Linked DNA regions of Homo sapiens: all the other regions are linked to region 6. The links are contacts of gene promoters, found by promoter capture Hi-C in blood cells and fetal thymus (Javierre and others, 2016). All regions are on one chromosome and are shown on one strand. The core of a region is centred on a gene start or on the middle of the fragment in contact, and the rest is flanking DNA. Distances in the headings are between cores, read along the strand shown. Region 1 holds the start of DDX23 (DEAD-box helicase 23). Region 2 overlaps SCAF11 (SR-related CTD associated factor 11). Region 3 overlaps SLC38A2 (solute carrier family 38 member 2). Region 4 has its middle 93 kb from the start of SLC38A1. Region 5 overlaps SLC38A1 (solute carrier family 38 member 1). Region 6 holds the start of RPAP3 (RNA polymerase II associated protein 3). Region 7 overlaps SLC38A1 (solute carrier family 38 member 1).

Region 1 (2,831 bases), core at 144-2,643, 1.1 Mb before region 6:
TTAAGTGTCCAGCCCAGAGCTGAGCACTTAGAAGATTCTCAATAAAAAGTGGCTGCAGTTTTTGAAGATTCTGGCCTACCATGGTTGGTCTGATTCTTAGTTTAATCTGTGAATCTGTGAGTCGAGCGCCCTCTCGTGCTTTTGTGGTGAATTACACCTAACAGATCTCAGAGCTCTCTTCTTTCCCTTGCGTTCTCTCTGGAGTAGAAGCTGGGAGGTGAAAGGCTGCAGGTTCTAAGAGAAGTGTGTGTCTCCGAGGGTTACTTTGGGCCATTGTACGTGATGCTCAGGGCTTTAGGATTACTTGGGTCTATCCTGAGGCTCTGCTTGAGAGCTTGGGCATATTCAGAGAGAAAAGGCAGACCTACAGCCATGTGGAATTGAAGCAACAAACCTGCTGCTGGCAAAATGGGAAGGGAGGTCCGAGATACTTCTGGTTATCTAAACCGTTTCCGCAACTGCAATGTTTTGTTTTGTTTTGAGGGAAAGAGTTATGAACCCATAAGACCAAAGAGAAACACAAAGTGAACTTACGATTTGAGGTTAAAACAACAACAACAACATCAACAACAACAACAACAGCAACAACAAAACTCAGTGGAAGACTGAAGTAGGGGAATCTGGGGGAAGAAAGAAGCAAAAATACCAAGATAGCTCAACAATTGGTCACATTCCAAAGGGCAAGAAATTGAGGAAACCAGGGTTCCATCTGGAATGTTGAGAAAACAGGTGCTAGAGCCCAGGAGATACCATCCTTCCGGGAGGACTTTAGAGCCCATTGTGTGGGCTCATTTGGAGCTGTAACAATAACTGGGGGTTGTTATGGCATTCACCCGGCTGCAGGGGCCAAGGTTGCTAAAACGTCCTCCTAAGCCTGGGATAGTTCCACACACAATGGAGAACTGCATCACCCTCCTTGTGAACCTACTCCGGTAACCTGATCTTTAGTTTGTCCAACTGTAAAATGGGGCTAGCCCCATTCTCACAGAATTATTATAAAAACCGCTTTTCCACGAATGGTATTTATTGTTACTGCGGTTGTTAGCTATAATTACGTACTACAGATATCTCAGGAAGCCCTTAAATTCCTCCACTGTAAGCCACGGGCAAGGACAGTCATAGACCGTAGTTTCTAGGAAGACCAGCCGATTCCAAGAAGGGTGCTCGGCGGGAGAACCTAATGCCGAAAGCCTATTGGCGAAAAACTCTTCCTTCCCGGACGCTAACGTCTGGCAAACCACATTGCCCGGCAGACCCCGCAGCCTGGGGCCGGCGCTCAAGTCATGCATTCTGGGATTGGTAGTTTCCAGGCCTCAGTGTCGGCCTGTGCCGCCCAGCTCCAGGAACTCGCCTTCCCAGCTTGCCTCGCGGCCGGGGGGGTGGGGGGTGTTCATCTCCGCGACCAGGAAACGGGAAAGATGGCGACGGCTCCGCGACGTTGAGGCCGCGTTGGGCGGTTCAGACTCAGGGTGGTGAGTCCCGGGCGGTGGAGGCGGTTCCCACGAGCTTACAGAAAGGGCTAGAGTCAGGGCACGGCGGTGGCCCCTGCCTCCTGGATGAGGCGGGAAAGAACGCCTCAGAGAAGGGGCATGAACCCGGGAAGCTCGGGCGGGCTGGAGTGAAGGGGCGCGGGCCCCAGGGGTAGTGTTGGCTCCTCCGGGCACAGGCCACGTCCCTGCACGATATTTTCCTCCCAGGACTCTGCCTATGGGCACAGCGCCTCTGATACCCCCAGTCTGACCTTATTCTTTCATGCTTAAAGTAGCCTTTGGTGCAGCCAAACTGGAACTCTGGCTTTTCTCTCGCAGTCAGTCCATGTTTTCCCGCCTCTGCGCCGGCCGTATTATTTCTTTTGCCGGGAATGACTTCTTTTCCGCGTCCTTAATTACATATCTTAAAATTCTACTTATACTTAAAAGCTCAAGCGTCACTTCCTCTTCCAAGCCTTCCACATCACCTTTTACAAGTGAAAGGAAACGCCTTTGAACACCTGTATTACTACATCTGAGCCTTGATACTCTTCTTGGTATGTGTCTCATACCCCCTATTGTTCTTTTTTTTCTTTTCTTTTCTTTTTTTTTTTGAGACGGAGTCTCGCTCTGTCGCCTAGGCTGGAGTGCAATGGCACGATCTTGGTTCTCTGCAACCTCCGCCTCCCGGGTTCAAGCGATTCTCCTGTCTCAGCCTCCCGAGTAGCTGTGATTACAGGCGCACGCCGCCACGCCCGGCTAATTTTTTGTATTTTTAGTAGAGACGGGGTTTCACCGTGTTCCCCAGGCTGGTCTCGAACTCCTGAGCTCAGGCAATCCACCTGTCTCGGCCTCTTAAAGTGTTAGGATTACATGCGTGAGCCACCGCGTCCGACCTCATAACCCTGTTGTTCTAAACACTTCCTGTGAACAGAATTTATTTTTGTAACTCACATAGCACCTAGCACTGTGCCTTGCGTACAGTAGATGCTTGTTAAATACGTCATTGAGTGAAAAAAAAGAATGTGCCCCTGCCCTGCAAGAACTGAGGACCTGAAGATCTGGAGGTTTGAGAGGAAGGCTGCTGGGAAGCATGGCCAGAGTCAGCCTGGTTATTTGGCCCTTGTGATAATAGAACCTGTAATAAAAGTTGCCTGTATTTACTGTCTTCTTCTCATTTTTCATTCTCTTCCAAACTCATTCCACTCAGGCTTCCATTCCCGCAATGCAACTGAAACAGCTCTTGTCAAGGTCACCAATAATCTCCATTTTTCCAAATTCAGTGGTTACTTCCCTGTCCCTTATTCCCTCTCCACTTCGGTGGTACTTGACACAGTTGACCCCTCCCTCCTTGAAACATGT
Region 2 (2,771 bases), core at 141-2,640, 1.7 Mb after region 6:
TCTCAATTTCCTCACCTAATTTTTTAATAACATTTATCTAAGTCCAGTGGTAATAGCAGCTAACTCTGTCTCTGTTCATACTCTTAAGTTAGCTTTGTTTAGTGGGTGATTTTTAAGCCTTTTTAATGCAGTGTTCTGTTGTTCAGTATTGACGGTGTTTTAATTTTTTAAATGTATCGTGTTCTGGTATTTTGAGGATTAAATGTGGAAAGGCATGCCAGAATGTGTAGTTCATTACGTAGTATATTGTAGGCATTCACTCTACCCATAGTTCTGAACTCCAGGTTTGTTGATATCTATGTGTCTATTAGGTCTGTGCCCTAGGGGAGCTTAGTCCTAATCAGGCCTTCTTTTTTGATATCTAGTCTTCTTTCCATTTTCTCCTAACTAGTTTCTCGTACTTTCCATCTCTCCACCACTGCCACCTTTCTGCTACTACATTAAGCTCAAAATCCCCAATTTAAACATCTTATAAACCACTTTCAAAACAAATAAATGGGAGAGAGATAGACTTGAAGTCCACCTAAGGAAACACAACGTAAGTCCTAATTGGACTTAAGAACATTAACTTTTTGCACTTTATTATCATTATTTTTCTTTACTTGCCTCAGTCGTTAGTTACTCCCCCACTGGTACATTTAAAAAAATGTCTTAGAAACTCTTTGCCTATTTCTCACATTTGGCACTTGGCATATGCTATCTTGTTCATCTTCTGTATCCTATGTCTCCAAGTCTACTCCTTGTACCGGGAAGTGATACAGTATCTTAATCCGTCTTTATATTCCAATACCAGGCTCAGTACCCTGACCACAGTAGTTATTTAGCAGCTTAAAGTAAACCAAAACAGAAGTACAAACATGAAAGACAGCGGCCAAAACAACACTGTTATAAAAATTCTCTGGGATCAATGAAACAGTCTACAAATGATAGGTTTTGTTTGGTTTGTTTTGAGACACAGTCTCATTCTGTCACCCAGGCTGGAGTGCAGTGGTACAATCTCGGTTCACTGTAACCTTTGCTTCCCAAGTTCAAGCAATTCTCCTGCCTCAGTCTCCTGAGTAGCTAGGATTACAGGCGTGTACCACTACACCCGGCTAATTTTTGTATTTTTAGTAGAAACGGTTTCACCATGTTGGTCAGGCTGATCTCGAACTCCTGACCTCAAGTGATCTGCCCGCCTTGGCCTCCTGAATTGCTGGGATTACAGTCATGAGCCACTGTACCCGGCCCCGATAGGTGATTTTTTAATGTAAATATACGTATAGCACTATTTTGTATGCCTAGATGGCTTGTCAAGAAGAATGATTCTGTAAGCTGTTATAATGGGGAATAAATATTAATGACTCAAAAAATTTATAAGCTATCACTCACCTGAAAACTTCATCATAGAAAACCCTTCAGATAGGACAGTTTTAATGTAATAGGTCATATTTCTTTAGAAACTGTTGTGCATGTCCAGTTACTTAAGACATCAGCTTGAGTAATATGAGGGAGATGGATGAAACGAAATAGCTTCATTGTTTCAAAACTGCCACAGAACTAGATATAATTAAAACTGAATGGAGGGTAAACAAATCCACTTAGACTCTTTAAAAAGGTTTAAAATATAGTTCATATTAATATAGCCATTCCAACCATCGTTTATTATTGTTTGCATTATTTGGCATATCTTGTTCTATATGTTTAACCTATCTTTATTTTTAAAGGGAGTTTCTTGTAGACAGGCATATAATTCAGTCTTTCTTTAAAATCCAGTTTGATAATCTCTTTTAATTGGTGTGCACGATTATTTACATTATTTACATTTAATATAATAATGTTTGTTCCTCTATTTTCTTCCTTTTTTGGGAGGTATGGGGAGAGACAAGGTCTCACTCTGTCCCCTGGCTGGAATGCTATGGGATGGCCATAGTTCCCTGCAACCTTAACCTCCTGGGCTCAAGTAATCCTCCTGCCTTAGCCTCCAGAGTACCTAGTACTACAGGCATGCCACCACACTCGGCTAATTTTTTAAATTTTTGTTAGAGATAGGTGAACAGTCTAGAGTTAATCTGTAACTAGAATAACTTGGGGAAATGAGATAAAAAACAAAAACGTATTTATTCAAGGATGACGGATTATATTTATTCCTCAGAAAATGGGAGAATGATGTTTCGGTTTTTGGATCTTTTTGGGAGACAGGAATCTCAGAGCTGTAAGGGGCTATTTGTTTAGAGATTATTTTGATACAACTTTAAGGGACTTGGATTAATATCAGGGTTATTTCTTTGGCATGGATTTGTAAGACTGTTCTCTACATCATCACATCATTTAGAATAGTTTGTTTTAGGGATGAGTTCATTCATCGTTTTTGACTCTTCATCCCTGTTTCCTTTCTCATTAACATGTCTTACTGATATACTTTTATGGTGTCGAACAAATCATATCCTGTGTTAGTCATGGTGAACATAGCAGAAGACTGGCCAGTTAGAAATTTCACTTGAAAAGGTAGTTGGCAGTTTGTAGCATTTATAATAAGATTACATTTAGGTGATAATCCGAATATCACTCAATCTCTAACAGCATTATTTTGGTCTGAGTTGTCTCTTCCAAAAACCAACTATATATACTCTTTGACAATATTTCTTTATTTTGTTAATTTATAAATCACCTGCCCTGTTTCCCTAAAACAAACTATTCTAAATGATGTGATATATTAGGTTATGTCCTAAGACATTGATAACTAGTATCTTACTAATATCAGTTTAGTTTTTCCTATTAGTGTATTTTGG
Region 3 (3,021 bases), core at 110-2,609, 1.3 Mb after region 6:
ATGCTTATTTATAACCCTATGCCTTTTCCTTCTCTCACCAGAATTCTCTTGACATTTGTGTCAATATTTTCCCTGTATTCTGTTCATCTCCTTTTGAAGACTGCCAATGAAGGAGGTATGATAGCATTCTTGATTTTTCTAAAACAATGTATACCTATCATTTTATTTCTCTTTTAAAATCCTTGGCTTCATGCTTCTGTCTTCAAATTGTAGGGTCTTTATTATATGAACAATTGGGATATAAGGCATTTGGATTAGTTGGAAAGCTTGCAGCATCTGGATCAATTACAATGCAGAACATTGGAGGTAAGAATTTTTCAAAAGATTATTTGGGTAGACTTTATGCTCATTGTGGAGCACAGAATGGTGACACATGCGTTTTAGTGTCACGTGCCGCGTTTTGCACTTGTAATGGTATAATTTTGTTTTCCTCCAGCTATGTCAAGCTACCTCTTCATAGTGAAATATGAGTTGCCTTTGGTGATCCAGGCATTAACGAACATTGAAGATAAAACTGGGTAGGTGCTAAGTAAGGTTACTCATAAGAAACAATTATAGTCAAAAGTGGTTAGATACATTTTTATCAAAGTTGTATACAAAATGATTAGTTAATTATCCATAAATGTTCCTTTTGAAACTGACCAAGAAGGCCCCCCATCCCCGTAAACTGATTCGAACTTTGGAGAAGGAAAGGCCGAAAGATAGTAGCTAGCCCTACAATTTTGGATATCTTAATTTCTAAAACAGGTTTTCTAGAACTTGCTTTCTGTCTTTATGTTCATACTTAAAGAAGTTATAGGTGTTTTTAATATATATCCTAAGTGAGGACTGAAGCTTTGAATTACATTAAAAATTAATCCGTCTTATTTTTGTAAGTTTGGAATTCTTAAGACTTAATCTGTTCAATGCAAAATACAGGCTGGACATCCCTAATCTGAAATCCAAAACTTTTTGAGTGCCAACATGACACTACAAGTGGAAAATCCACACCTGATCTCGTGACAGGTGTGCAAAATTAATTAAAATACTGTATAAAATCACCTTTAGGCTATGGGTTTAAGAAGGTGTATAGGAAACATAAGTGAATTTTGTGTTTAGACTTCAGTGCCATCTCCAAGATACTTCAAATATGTATGTGCAGGTACTCCAAAGTCCAAAACACTTCGGTCCCAAGCATTTTGAATAAGGGATACTCAACATGTGCCAGAAAATGTTTGGGCATGCTATAGAAACCATTTTCTTCTAGCAAAGTTACTCATCCCAGTGAACTCACAGGTATTTATCTAAAGTAAACATGGGGAAGGATAATTTACTTCCCACCCTATGTGCAGCTCATTACGTCAAAATAGAGAAGTGCTGTTATCTCAGATGTGGCTTTAGAAATTTAATTTTTTAAGCTGATCTTTAAGTGTTGGTGTTCTGCAGAGTGCTTACTGCTGAAGTGAACAGAATTCATGAGGCAATTAGAATTTGAAAATAGTGATTTAGAAGACAGTGCAATTCATGATTTACCTAAAAAGAAAAAGGCTTAGAGGATATACATAATGTTTTCTAAAGTTCAAAAGGGATATTTTTGGCTGTCTTTGGAGTTAAAGGTGGGTCAAGATGTCACAACATACTCTGATAACCTGGAATAAGTCCTGGTTTGGGGGACTGAGTTTTATAATTTTTTTTATGGGGGGGGCAGTTTGCCTGTGCATTTTATGAAAACGTTTCCTCATTGAAATATTTAATAATATTTGCTAACGCATCTGGAAAAAAACTTGTTTTAAAATTTTTTAGTTTCCAGCATTAGAAATTACATGCTAAAGCTGTACCAAAGTTGGTGTACAATTTTTCTGAAAGTGCTTAAAGATAAGATTACTGGCTTAACAAACAAGCTTTGTTCCCTGCATTAGTATCAAGTCTTTGAGAAGCATTTTGTGTTATGAATCAGCTGGCAGCCTTCCCAGAGCAAGTAGTGGGACAAAAGTTACACTGTTTTATACCCGACTTCTAACCTGAGTAAATGTTCATCTAGCACACAAAATTAAAAAGTTATTCCTATCTTGAACAGGGGAAACTTTTTCCAAACATGTCTTTTTTGTGTGTTTGTTTTCATGGTATTCCTATGAAATGAGTCCTGTTAGAAGATGTGTATATTTTTCAGAGGATATTTGTGACTGTTTTGACCTTGTTTCTGTTTTCTTTAGATTGTGGTATCTGAACGGGAACTATTTGGTTCTGTTGGTGTCATTGGTGGTCATTCTTCCTTTGTCGCTGTTTAGAAATTTAGGTGAGCAAACTCATCTCTAAAGAGAATTGAAATGAGCCTCTCACCAGTTAGTTGGGCTTTCTCTGAATAGAAATTAATCAGAATGAAAAAGCCCTAGAAAGTAGAAAGGTATATCTTTGGGACTTACAGCATGCAAAATTTAGGAGCCAAAATATTTAATTGACACTATATGTTGTGCTTTGTAAGAAATAATGCAAATGATAGTTTTTATTAGCTTGGGTTATGACAAGTATATTTAAATAAATCTATAATTTAGTATCATAAGAATTAGAAATTTAGTGCTATACACATACTTTAGTGCCTAAAGTCTTCCCAGCAGAATTGAGTTATTCAGTGGGAAAAAGATATTTGCCTTAAATCTGTTTCATTAAACTAATACTGATTCCTGCCACCCCTCCTTATAGGATATTTGGGATATACCAGTGGCCTTTCCTTGTTGTGTATGGTGTTCTTTCTGATTGTGGTGGGTATGATTTTTTTTTTAGAAAAAATTTTTTATAAGCCCTGCCATGTCACTTAGTTTAACACATGCAAAATAATATATTTTTAGGTCATTTGCAAGAAATTTCAGGTTCCGTGTCCTGTGGAAGCTGCTTTGATAATTAACGAAACAATAAACACCACCTTAACACAGCCAACAGCTCTTGTACCTGCTTTGTCACATAACGTGACTGAAAATGACTCTTGCAGACCTCACTATTTTATTTTCAACTCACAGGTAACTAAATATGCTTATTTTCTCAAAA
Region 4 (2,914 bases), core at 415-2,914, 1.5 Mb after region 6:
TTTCCATATTCAAGCTCGCAGTTAGCCCAGCTCCCTACCACAGATAGAAACTAGAGATGGTATTTGACCATATGCATCAGAAAATATTAATTGGTAAATCCCTGTTCAACTCTAGTTTGTTTCCGCATAGCCAGTTTCAAAATGATAGGGGTAGTTTTTATGAAATTTATGAATTTAGGACAGCTTTAAAAAATAATTATGCTAGGGCCCTACCTCAGACCAATTAAATCATAATCTCTAGTGGTATAGTCAGAGATATTTTCAAAATCTTCTAGGGTGGAAGGTGGGAGGAGATAGAGGATCAGGAAAAATAACCAATGGTTTAATACCTGGGTGACAAAATAATCTGTACAACAAACCCAAGTGACAAAACTTTACCTATGTAACAAACCTGCACATGTACCCCTGAATTTAAAAGTTAAATTAAAAAAATTATTTTAAAAAATTACTCCAAACTTAAGATGAAGAGAAGATATAATATGAAACTGGGAAATTATTTACCAGTCCTAGCCAAGGGTTATTTAATTATCTAGAGGAATGTACTTTTGTTTGTTCAGATTTTTATCTGGTAGAGATGCAAATGATTTCTGCCCAGTAGAAAAATAACCTCAAAGGTTTGTATCTAACTTAACAATCTTGTTATATTTTTCTATTATTTCTATATGCCTGTAAACATCCAGTTCTTCAAAATGCTCTGAATTTTTTTTTTTTTTCTTTGAGACAGGGTCTCACTCTGTCACCCACGCTGGAGTACAGTGGCTAGAACACGGCTAACTGCAGGCCTGAGTTTCCGGGCTCAAGTGATCCTTCCACCTCAGCCTCTTCAGTAGCTGGGGCCACAGGCACACACCACCAGACCTGTCAATTTTTTTTTTTTTGTAAGGATGGGGTCTTACTAACTTACAAGAAGATATAAGAACAAGCAATCCTCCTGCCTCTGCCTCCCAAAGTGCTGGAATTGCAGGTGCAAACCACCACACCTGGCCTCAAAATGTTCTTTGAACCAGCTTTACCATCCTACTTCAGATTGCCTGTGTGTGGCCTTTGTCTTATTATTTTTGTTAAGAATACTATCAGCCAGGTGCAGTGGCTCATGCTTGTAATATCGGCAGGAGGATCGCTTGAGCCCAGGAGTTTGAGACCTGCCTGGGCAACAAAGTGAGATCCTGCCCCTACAAAAAAATATATTTTTTAATTAGCCTGGCATGGTGGTATGCACCTATGGTCCCAGCTACACGGGAGGCCAAGGCAGGAGGATGGCTTGAGCCCAGGAGGTTGAAGTTGCAGTGAGCTGTATTCACATCACTGCATTACAGCCTGGGTGACACAGTGAGACTCTGCCTCTTAAAAAAAAGGAAAAAAAGAATACTATTCATAGGATGTGAAATTCTCATCTCTGTTGTGATATTTGATGTTGTCATACTTGCTGCCCCCATGGTATTTATTATCTTTGATCATCAGCTTTTTATTTTATTCATGATATGGGTACCGTGGACATAGAGTAATTTTTTGATATATTCTTGATGAGCAAAAAATGTCTTATATGAAGATAAACATTGCAATTCCAATTTTTGGAAACAATAGGCAGGCCAAACAGAATGTGTCTGAGAGCAGGACAGGCCCCTGACCACCACCAGTTGGTGACTTTTTCTTCAGTCAGTCACATTGGAAGCAAATTAGATCTGTATGAACAGCTCAGCACTTGGAAATCGGGCATCAGAAAACATGTTATATACCATCCCTACCTTTTGAAAGGATAGCTCTTCTAAGTAGTTTAGAAGCAGTCCTTTCTGCCTGGGGAAGCCGCTTGCTTTTACTTTTCAAACATCAAAGTTTTTATTTGAGGTAAAGGTTTATTTTCCTGTGGAATACAGATGGTTTGGAACAGCATGAAGGAAAAAGTTAGATCTACTTTCCATTCATAGTTTTCAAAGACCCTTTTGACAGTCAAATGATGTCCTTATTCCTGGATCTGTTCCCTGAGAGATTTTCAGTATAGCCCACTATGTGATGTACATGCCGGGTATTCAGCATTTCCCCGCTTACTTAACCCGTGACTGACAGGTGTAAATGGCACAGCAGCCCTGCCACTGATGGGGACGGTGTGGAGATGTGTTTGCGTGTCTGCACTGCTCCCCCGTGGGATGGTGCCAGTTTCCCTTTGGGTTTTGCTGGATACTGCGTCCTTCCTTGTGTGGCTCCTTCCCTTCCCAGCCTCACTCCCTGACCCTCTGTGAATTCTTCTTGGGAACACTTCCTAATAAATCACTTTCACGTACATTCTGTATTGGGATTTGCTTCTGGGAAACCCAACCTAATACGTTAAGTGTGCCTCAGCTCACAGTACCTATAGGTTATATTTTAAATAATCATTTTCCCCCTATTGTTTTGATCTTTCTTTAAAAAGTAAAATAAAATCCTGGTTATGTTTTTTGCCTTTTTTTTTTTCTTTTTTAGTATGGGGTTGGGGCAGGCCTTAGCTAAGTCTTGTGGACCTTCCTCCCCGTGTTCAATATCAAACATATAGATAATGCTCCTTTTGGAATAAAATTCCCCTACCAATCTCCCAAGGTTCTTTCTCTGAATGACATAACCACATAAACCACGTAAACAGCATATTCTGTCTGCAGTGTCTGTTCACCTGGGACCTAGCATGGGATTTCCAAACTGTTCTCAGGAACACCCCATAGTTCCCCTCTCAGACTTCCCTGATAACTCTTGCAGACCACATCCCCTTTTCAAATAATGCTCTCAGGGGACACTCACTGCATTGTTTGTGTGTGCTGTGTGAAATGAATGGCAAATACTTTACTACCCTCACATTTGAAATGACCGACTAAATAATCGATTCTTCGAGTAGTAGGTCAGTAAGTCGTATCATGTGATTGTTCGCAATTCCTCCAAGGCTCCACGA
Region 5 (2,843 bases), core at 128-2,627, 1.4 Mb after region 6:
AGCGGAAGGAACAGGAAGAAGGAACAGCAAGTACTTATTGCACTCTTCTTTGACTGTAATATAATTGAACAGATAGATGAATAGATTTTAAAGGTGTTTTGGAGCTTTAAACCTATATGTATGTTGTTTATGTATATTTTTTATGATGCTTCATGAATTAAGGCCATTTAATGAAAGGAGCACCATGTTTCTGATATCTGACTATTGCTACTCTTTTCTTTACTCTGGGTGATGCTTGTGGACAAAAACCGATTTTACTCATTGTTCCTCTAATGTCCAGCACATAGTACCTGCTTAATAAATACTTGTTGGATCGAGACCTTGAGACCTTGATCAGGCCATCTTGTTCATCTCTTTGTGATATTATTGGCCATCCCTTCCGTTCTATATCTCATCTGTTCCCCTTCTCCTAAGTTTGAAAATGAGAGTCTTTTTCTTCTCTGCTTCTCCTTCTCGTACTGCCCTTCCCACTTTGAGCAGTGACCAGGCCCTTGAAAATACCCCTCACACTTGTCCTCTTGTCTCCATTTCCACTGCCCAAGTTCAGGTCCCTGTCACCTTACCTAGACTTGGAGACATATGAAACAGATATAGAGGTGCCTTGAACAACCTAGGGGCAGTGGGAGTGGGCGGTGGAGAAAAATGCAAGCACAACATATGGTTAAGAGTGAAACAGCCAGTTACTGAGGTGGAACAGCTTTCCTGTTGGTCTCTCCTCCATATCAAGTTATGCTCCCCTAATTAAATCTCCATTCTTTCATGAGGTTTATATTTCTAAAATTCAGTTCACATTTTGTTAAAGGACCTTGCTTTTAAAAACCTCTGAGGGTTTCCATTGCACACAAATACAGTCTAAATTCCTTAGCCATACACTTAGGACCCTTCACAATCTGCCTTCTCATCTCTTTCCAATTTTTTCTCTTGATATTTTCTTTCTCACAGTTCACCCTATTCCCTCCCTATCACTTTTCTGCTTCAATATCTGTGTGGATTGGATTCCAGTCCAGAATGCCTACTGAAATCCTGTGTACTTGTGATGGCCTATCCCTGATGCCACTTTTCCACCTCTTGGGAGAAGTGTTCACTGATCACCTCACTGGCATTTTCATAAGTATTTGTTTATCCTTCACATTTTGGACTGTTGTTACTCCAGGTGATGGAAGGTGGTGAATAGGGGCTTAGGCTCTGAGTCAAATATAAATATCAGGCCTCAGCTTACTCACCCAGGAATCTTGGGCAAGGTGTTTGGCATCTCTAAGCCTCAGTTTTTTCTTTTGCTAAATGGGAATGATGATGCTGGTGGTAGTGTTGGTGGTACCCACTTTACTGAGTGATGGTAAAGATTTAATGAAGATAATGAATGTGAAGTATTTGGTATAGTGTTAGCATTCCATATGTATTGAATTAAACATATCTACCAGAGGAGGGAGAGAAAGTTGATCAGTAAAGTTCCCTTTACCTCTGAAATTCTGTGACTATGTAATCTTTTAAAAATACTTTTCTGAAAATATATCTTGATGGAAACTACCTGGATCTTTTTAGTCTCTGGGAGAATATACATCTATGAAAGGTGGTGAGGAGGTAGGAGAAGTATGTGCACAGAAGTACTTTGAAGAATGTGTGACAGACTTCGAAAAAGACATCTTGTATGCAAAGGCACACAGAGTAATATAATGGACTGTGGAGACTCAGAAGCCAGAGGTTGGAAGGGAGGATGCCAGATAAAAAGCTACAGATTGGGTACAATGTGTACTACTCAGATGACAAGTGCACTAAAGTCTCAGATTTCATCACTTTCAATTCATTTATATAACCACCAAAAATCACTGATACCCCAAAATCTATTGAAATAAAAAAATTTTAAGTAAAATTAAAAGATTAACTTCAATAACCTAAAAAAAGACACTGACCCTAGATTTAAAATAAGATTTTAAATTTAAAAATATTGTTGTACTTATTTCTGAAAATTGATCACATATTTGTTTTCTAGTGATAACCTTACTAATAACAGAGGAGTTCCCCTAACCATGTTACCTTCCCAATCACTGAATTCCTCTACTATTAGTAAGTAACTCTGTTTCAAGTGAGGTTACAATGTGTCTTTGGCAATAACTAGCTGGGTACCCTTGAGCAACTCATTTCACATTTTTATGCCTCATTTTCTCATCTGTCCAATGCTAATAATAGTATCAGTGCTGCGTACCTCAGAGTTGTGAAGATACAATGAGAGCAGAGCTGAGAAAGTCCTTGAACAAGTTTAAAAAAACTATTCAAGATGATAGTCATCTGGCATTAAGCATGCTGCTAATCTTCAGGGTCAGGTGATGGTTTTAGATTAGTGAGTCTCAGAGCAGACTTCACATTAGACTCATCTAGGGTGTTTTAAAAGCTGTCAGTGCCAAGACTTCAACTCCAGAGATTCAGATTTAGTTGGCCTGGGATGGAGCCCAAATATGGGAGCTTAGAAAATATCAGGGGTGATTTTGATATGCATTGGTTTAGATTTAAAGCAAGGAAAACAAAACAAACATCAGAAATTAAATGAGGACCTCCATATGTTGCTTGACAAAGTCTTAGTCTTAGTAGTGTGAAATTATGAGCTTGACTGACTTTTCCCCCTGATTTTACTAAACCAACCATTTGTTGACATCATGGAGCCACAGCCTCAGGTTACAGTTTATAACCTGAATTTTCCCAGGCATAGACGCCTGTCCAGTGATACAGCCAGAGCCACATGAAGATTTAATGTGTAGATCTCAGTTTCCATCTCTTAGGAATGGCGAAGGTTGGAAAAGAAAGCGACAATGGAAAGGAAAAAGAAAGGGATAGGCTATGGACCAAGG
Region 6 (2,904 bases), core at 91-2,590:
AGCCCCCTTATCTCTCTTCTCAATCAACTCTGTCAGAATTAATAAAACAAATGTGGTTGCTTTTGTTAAAAACACCAGTAAATCAATATTTGCTTTTAAATACTTAATAAAAAAATTATTAAAAGTCAGTTCTCTATCTCCCTAATACAACCAAAGAATCATTTCATTAGTAAATATTTTGACGTACACTTAATGATTTGACTACTATGATTTTAAAATATAAAGATACCAATAATTAAGCAATGGGAAGGATGTGCTAATGATATGACCTTGTAAGACAGCACTCCAGCCTAGTTCTTCATTGATCAGCGCCTGGGTTAGTGGCTTCCAGCTTCAAATGCACAGCCGTATCCTATGCTTTAAAAAATTCTGATTGGCTTCACTCAAGACTAGTTACATCAGAATCTCTGGGATAGGACACAGAAATCAGTATACACACACACACACACACACACACACACACACACACACACACAGACACAAACACACACACACACACACGTGTATATGTATATACTCCCTAAGTGATTCCAAAGCTCAGTCAAGACTGAGAACCACCGATCTGGATTTTGAGGATATTTGAGGTTACAGTCCTGTTTTAAATGGAAAGTTTCATTTGTTTGTGTTTGCTTCTGTGGACTTCTGCAATTATTTTTGTTTTGCTTTCGTTTAAGAGTTGTCATTGCAACGAAGACTCCCTCACACGGGAAGCAGAAGCAAAAAGTGTTAAAAGTTTCGTTCTTTTTTCTCTGTAAGCCAGAGCATATCTAAAGACAGATTGTAACACTGGCACATGTCAAAGAAAGACTCAGAGATAGATTCACTTAGAAAAGGGGTTTACTTGCAAAAGATGCGAGGAGTTAGACGGAAGGACTAGTTTGCCAACCAGTACTTAAAGGGAAAAAAAAATCCCCTAAAATTACCAGGATTACCGGTTGACAGTAGTCTGTTCATGGTGGAAAAACAGTAACTTTCTCACATGGTTATTATACTCACAAAGGTCAGACAAATTAATGTCACAAAGGTCAGAGATTAGCAAGGTAAATATTAGGGATTAAACTGTTTAAGGGAGTCCAGGGAAATATTCAAGGTTTTATTGTTTTGGAGATCAGAAAATCAGGATGATCCTGCAGTTTTTGGGTTATCTCCTTTTAAGCTTAGTCATATTGGAAGCAGGCAGAAGGCTCAGATATTGCTTTTACATACCCTCAAGCCACCAAGCTGGTTCCATCCTGAGAAGGAAGTCACGAAGCTGACTTCTGCGCGCGCTCAAGCCCAGGCTAAAGGGGGCGGGGCGAGGCCGCGGGGGCTTGTGGGGAAGCGCAGGAGGCGGGGCTTTGCGTGAGTCACTGCCGGGCTCGGCGTGAGTCGCTGCGGGGCTGACGGGGTGGCAGTGCGGCGGGTTACGGCCTGGTCAGGTGAGCGGGCGTTGCGGTTCTCGCTGCCCGGAGCAGCGTAGGAGATCCTTGGGGTGGCCGGTGGGAGGAGGGGTAGCGGTTATGGGTACCGGTGAGGCGGGGCGGGCCGGGGCTGGCGGTGGAGGCGCGCGTTGAGGCGGCGCGTCGGTGTCCAGGGCAGCGGCGTCTCGGGTCGCGCGTTCCCGGAGGGGCTCGCCCCCGCAACCCGGGCCTGCGCGCTCTGCTTTGCAGGCGGACCCTCCACCCTGCTGCGATTTTGCAGTGCTCGGGAAGGCAGAGCCGCCCTCCCGCAAAGACCGAGGTGGGGCCCGCCCCCTTGCGGCGTGGGTGTGCGGTGTTCGCCGGGACAGCGGGTGTGAAAGTGATACCCCCAGCGCTGGAAGTTTTTGATTGCTGGCTCGCACCCCCGCCCCATCGCAGGGTCCCTGGGAGAGTTTTTGGGCCTGCTCGAGCAGCAGCGGTGATGGGTGAAATGGAAAAGCATCTAACCCCCGTCAGCATCTCACTGACTTGTTGCGCTTTTATTCATTTATTTGAGTTCCCAACAAAGCGTTGTACTAGTTTTGTTTTTGAATGAGTTGTGCATATATGGTCAAACATGGACACTGCCTGAAAGAAGCTTAAACCTAATTTAGTTGTTGAGGCTACGAGTCAGAAGACCTATCTGCATCTGCAACTGTCCCTTCTTAGTGAGGTATTTTTCACTGTCCTAAACAAATGTTTTTCTAATTCCGTCTCTCTCCCTCCCACCTTACTTCTCTTCCCTCCGCCTAAAGCTTTGACTCTTCTCCTACCTTTTTGGAGATTTTGCCCCATCACTCATCCTTTTTCCTGTATCTTTTACTTTGTTGCTTTTTCCCCAGACTATGCTCAAGAACAAGTCTTATATTATCAAAGGCAAATGTACTGTAATCTCCATATAATCTCATTTACGTAACTCATTTCATTCCCCCCCCTCCTTTTTTTTTGGTCCCAGGCTGGAGTGTAGTGGGCCCGTCACCGCCCACTGTGGCCTCGATCTCCCGATCCTCCCACCTCAGCCTCCTGAGTAGCTGGAACTATAGGCACCCTCCACCACGCCTGGCTAATTTTTGTGTTTTTAGTAGAGATGGGGATCTCGAAGTGTTGCCCAGGCTGATCTAGGAACTCCTGAGCCCAAGCTATTCCCCCTGCCCCCCAACCTCTGCCTCCCAAAGTGCCGGGATTACAGGCATGAGCCACCTGCGGTTGGCCTTCCACCCTTTAAAAAAAATCTTATTGAAACTCTAAATAGAGGTCAGGCGCGGTGGCTCATGCCTATAATCCCAGCACTTTGGGAGGCCGAGGTGGGCGGATCACTTGAGGTCAGGAGTTCGAGACCAGCCTGGCCAACGTGGTGAAACCCCGTCTCTACTAAAAAAAAAAAAAATACAAAAATTAGCCGGGCGTGGTGGCCTGCACCTGTAATCCCAGCTGCTCGGGAGGCTGAGGCAGGAGAATCACTTGA
Region 7 (2,859 bases), core at 313-2,812, 1.5 Mb after region 6:
AACGTAGATACGGGGTTTCACCATGTTATCCAGGCTGGTCGCGAACTCCTGAGCTCAGGCAATCTGCCCACCTCTGCCTCCCAAAGTGCTGGGATTACAGGTGTGAGCCACCGCGCCTGGCCAGGATTCTTCTTCTGTGTCTCTTTCCTCACCACTTAAGTCTTCCATTGGCATTGCTTCCCTAGGCCAGAAACCACTATTCCTGTCCTCGAGCCTCACTGAGAGCCTCTGGTCCCTCACTTAAACCTTCTACTCATGCCCTACTTCCTGTTTCCACTGGCTGGCTGTCACACTTGCCTGGAAAACCCCTGAAGCTGTGCTTTCCAACCACACAGACACGGCGACACTAAGTTCTTGGTCTGCATTCTCAGTTGGGTCCTCCCCACAGTCCAGCCCCTCCATCATTTTCAGCTAGTGTTCTAGTCTCTTCAACAATGTTTTCAAATCTTTATACAGGTATTTCCCCTAGAATAATTGGGGGTGGGGATGGAGAAGCAGGGAGAGTTGGTGGAGATGAAAGATGAATGGGAAAGTGCAAGGTGAAGATGCAGGAGGGTTGAGACCCTTGAGAAAGGTAGACTAGAAGTAAGAGGTAGAAGAGGGTGAGGGAGAGGCCAGCAATAGCAGAAAGGAGTGGAGAAAGATAGGCTAGCCCAGAACCGATGCATTTCCTATGGTTTGTCTAAGTTCCTTGTCCTGGATTTTAAATTTTTCTTGTAAATACTCTGCCTCAACAAGCAGTATGTCTGTAAGTTTTGGAGTGAGGGCTGTGGGTTATTAGGAGACAGTGATAGATCAAAGGAGGACTAGTAATAAAGACCACTTTTACCCCAGCTCAAGGAGTTTTTATATGTACTAGCCTGCTTGTTTAATTGAGGATAGTAAAAGTTTTATACTTCTAACTGGATCTAGAAGAGGAAGAATTACATAGTTTAGTAAGCCTCAGATCCCTTTTGGAAGGAGTGAAACATGGGGGAGGGGAGGTTGAAAATAGAATTTAAATATATGTCCTGCTGAAGTAAATAATGCTTGAGGTGGGCAGATCACCTGAGGTCAGGAGTTTGAGATCAGCCTGGCCAATATGGTGAAACCCGTCTCTACTAAAAAATACAAAAATTAGCTGGGTGTGGTGGCATGCACCTGTAATCCCAGCTACTCAGGAGAGGCAGGAGAATCACTTGAACCTGGGAGGCAGAGGTTGCAGTGAGCCAAGATTGTGCCACTGCACTCCAGCCTGGGTGACAGAGCAAGACTCTGTCTCAAGAAAAAAAAAAGTAATGCTTGAGGAAGTCAACCAAAGGAAGCAGATGAGATCTTACTTTTCACACTGGAAGCTAGTCAGCATCCCACAGCAATGAGAATGATTCAGTTGTAAGTGCTTTTCGTCACTGTCACCTTACTTGGGTAGCCGTGGGGTCTGTGTTTACAGGTAACTGAGCTGCAGTGTTGGCACAGCACCTCACCACAGACAGTGTGGCGGGTGATGCACAGCACAGTGTGGTGAGAAACAGAAAGAACTGGAATGTATACACCACAAGGCCAGAGCTTAGGGCTTTCAGTTTTGCTGCTTCCAGGGAGGTCAGTGGACCAGTAGCAGCAGCAGCATCTGGCAACTTGTTAGAAATGCTGAATCTCAGGTCCCGACCCATCCATTTTAACAAGATCCTAATTTGCACACACGTTAAAGTTTGAGAATAGCTGCTTTCAACTTTGCAAGGGAGAGTCATGCTAGGGAGGGCTGGCAACGGTTCTCTCTTTTTTTGGGAGGAATGGGTCCTGGAGAAGTTGAAAGCACTCAGCTGCAAGGCAGCCCCAAACACCCCCATCTGAGCTATTTCTGGATCTGATGCAGTGACGGCTGCTTTACCTCCACCCCTACCAAAGGTTCTGATGCTGTGTTGGGAGGATGTCATATGATTTGTTGCTGTGTAGCTAGGCTTTTAAAATATAGTCTTATCTCCCTTAAAGTGTCCTGAGGTTGGTTTTTGTTTGTTGGTTGTTTTTTTGTTTGTTTGTTTTGGGGTATACTTTATATACAATAAAATTCTCCAATTTAAAGGGTGAGGTTTGTTAAATTTACCCAAATACAGTTGTGAAATCACCACCACAATCATGGTATAGAACATTTCAATCACATTAAATGTTTTGGTTTTATTTGTTGTCACAGCTTTCCACTTTATTAGCATATGGTACTTTTAAATATGAAAATAATAACATTATTCATATAATCTTTGGGTAAATTATGGAAGACCAAATAATTACAATTCTGTTAATATGATTCAAAACATTGACAAATAACGTTTTTCAAATCGATGTTTAGATGTTCGTTGTTTAAAAGATGAGTCAAAATTTTCTTGCAGCAAAAAGAGTAAATATATCTAGGACCACTGTGACAAATCTTTTTCATTTTTTCTTTTTTTGCTCATGCCACTTTGTCTAAGATACTCTCAGGAATCTGTTTAAAAATCATGGAAAGCAAGAGTATCCCCAGAGGATTAGAAATAGGCTAATTTAATCCCAACTTTCAAAAATGGCAAAAAGTAGATGCCAAGGAATAGTGTAGAGAAAATTATTAAACAGCTTGTTTATGTGCAATGACTGCAGAAAAGATTACTCTGTAGAAACCAACAAAGTTTTTCTAAATAGTCACTAAACTAATATCATCTTTTGAGATACAGTGAGCTAAGTAGATCATGGGACTATCTTCATAGAGGGAGTCTTGATTTTAGTTAAGATATTTGGCATAGTCTCACATAACTTGCCAATGAGGTTCTAATGTTTCTAAATTCACTGATTCTCAGCGAAGACTCTGTTATGTGTGTGTTTGATGTTGAAGGTAAATAGGTAAATAGTTGAATT

Evidence for each region. Contacts are between HindIII fragments. The CHiCAGO score rates a contact against its expected background, and 5 or more counts as called.
Region 1: the fragment with the promoter of DDX23 here is called in contact with the fragment with the promoter of RPAP3 in region 6 in 4 of 17 cell types (fetal thymus, M0 macrophages, neutrophils and 1 more); the score reaches 11.6 in fetal thymus.
Region 2: a fragment that was not itself captured here is called in contact with the fragment with the promoter of RPAP3 in region 6 in 1 of 17 cell types (naive B cells); the score reaches 5.4 in naive B cells.
Region 3: a contact is called between a fragment that was not itself captured here and the fragment with the promoter of RPAP3 in region 6, in 1 of 17 cell types (naive CD4 T cells). The highest score is 7.3, in naive CD4 T cells.
Region 4: a contact is called between a fragment that was not itself captured here and the fragment with the promoter of RPAP3 in region 6, in 1 of 17 cell types (total B cells). The highest score is 6.8, in total B cells.
Region 5: a contact is called between a fragment that was not itself captured here and the fragment with the promoter of RPAP3 in region 6, in 1 of 17 cell types (naive CD4 T cells). The highest score is 5.7, in naive CD4 T cells.
Region 7: a fragment that was not itself captured here is called in contact with the fragment with the promoter of RPAP3 in region 6 in 2 of 17 cell types (naive CD4 T cells and total B cells); the score reaches 6.5 in naive CD4 T cells.

The regions. Positions count from the first base shown.
Region 1 is chr12:48,850,725-48,853,555 of GRCh38, reverse strand. It overlaps DDX23 (DEAD-box helicase 23), which reads left to right and starts at 1,393. Exons shown (of 17, transcript NM_004818.3): 1 at 1,393-1,472. LOC105369755 (a long non-coding RNA gene) reads right to left here and starts at 1,835. Exons shown (of 2, transcript XR_944925.3): 1 at 1,742-1,835; 2 at 1,007-1,506. RefSeq lists enhancers at 259-468, 1,348-1,537. The HindIII fragment of the contact is 5,632 bases long and covers 1-2,831 here.
Region 2 is chr12:45,980,883-45,983,653 of GRCh38, reverse strand. The region is part of intron 1 of SCAF11 (SR-related CTD associated factor 11); the gene reads left to right. Among named protein-coding and RNA genes, the nearest start is that of SCAF11, 8.3 kb to the left of the region's middle. The HindIII fragment of the contact is 3,959 bases long and covers 1-2,771 here.
Region 3 is chr12:46,364,361-46,367,381 of GRCh38, reverse strand. It overlaps SLC38A2 (solute carrier family 38 member 2), which reads left to right. Exons shown (of 16, transcript NM_018976.5): 5 at 42-115; 6 at 214-306; 7 at 437-518; 8 at 2,193-2,275; 9 at 2,680-2,738; 10 at 2,826-2,993. Among named protein-coding and RNA genes, the nearest start is that of SLC38A2, 6.9 kb to the left of the region's middle. The HindIII fragment of the contact is 1,046 bases long and covers 837-1,882 here.
Region 4 is chr12:46,174,323-46,177,236 of GRCh38, reverse strand. No RefSeq gene overlaps it. Among named protein-coding and RNA genes, the nearest start is that of SLC38A1, 93 kb to the left of the region's middle. The HindIII fragment of the contact is 4,589 bases long and covers 1-2,914 here.
Region 5 is chr12:46,263,633-46,266,475 of GRCh38, reverse strand. All of the region lies in intron 1 of SLC38A1 (solute carrier family 38 member 1), which reads left to right. Among named protein-coding and RNA genes, the nearest start is that of SLC38A1, 4.0 kb to the left of the region's middle. The HindIII fragment of the contact is 3,181 bases long and covers 1-2,843 here.
Region 6 is chr12:47,704,466-47,707,369 of GRCh38, reverse strand. RPAP3 (RNA polymerase II associated protein 3) reads left to right here and starts at 1,340. Exons shown (of 17, transcript NM_024604.3): 1 at 1,340-1,418. RPAP3-DT (RPAP3 divergent transcript) reads right to left here and starts at 1,282. Exons shown (of 4, transcript NR_183480.1): 1 at 1,207-1,282. RefSeq lists enhancers at 1,029-1,178, 1,110-1,404, 1,125-1,624, 1,625-2,126 and silencers at 1,319-1,398, 1,469-1,758, 1,789-1,878. The HindIII fragment of the contact is 881 bases long and covers 1,159-2,039 here.
Region 7 is chr12:46,213,832-46,216,690 of GRCh38, reverse strand. The region is part of intron 5 of SLC38A1 (solute carrier family 38 member 1); the gene reads left to right. Among named protein-coding and RNA genes, the nearest start is that of SLC38A1, 54 kb to the left of the region's middle. RefSeq lists enhancers at 121-180, 351-680, 1,242-1,301. The HindIII fragment of the contact is 5,560 bases long and covers 1-2,859 here.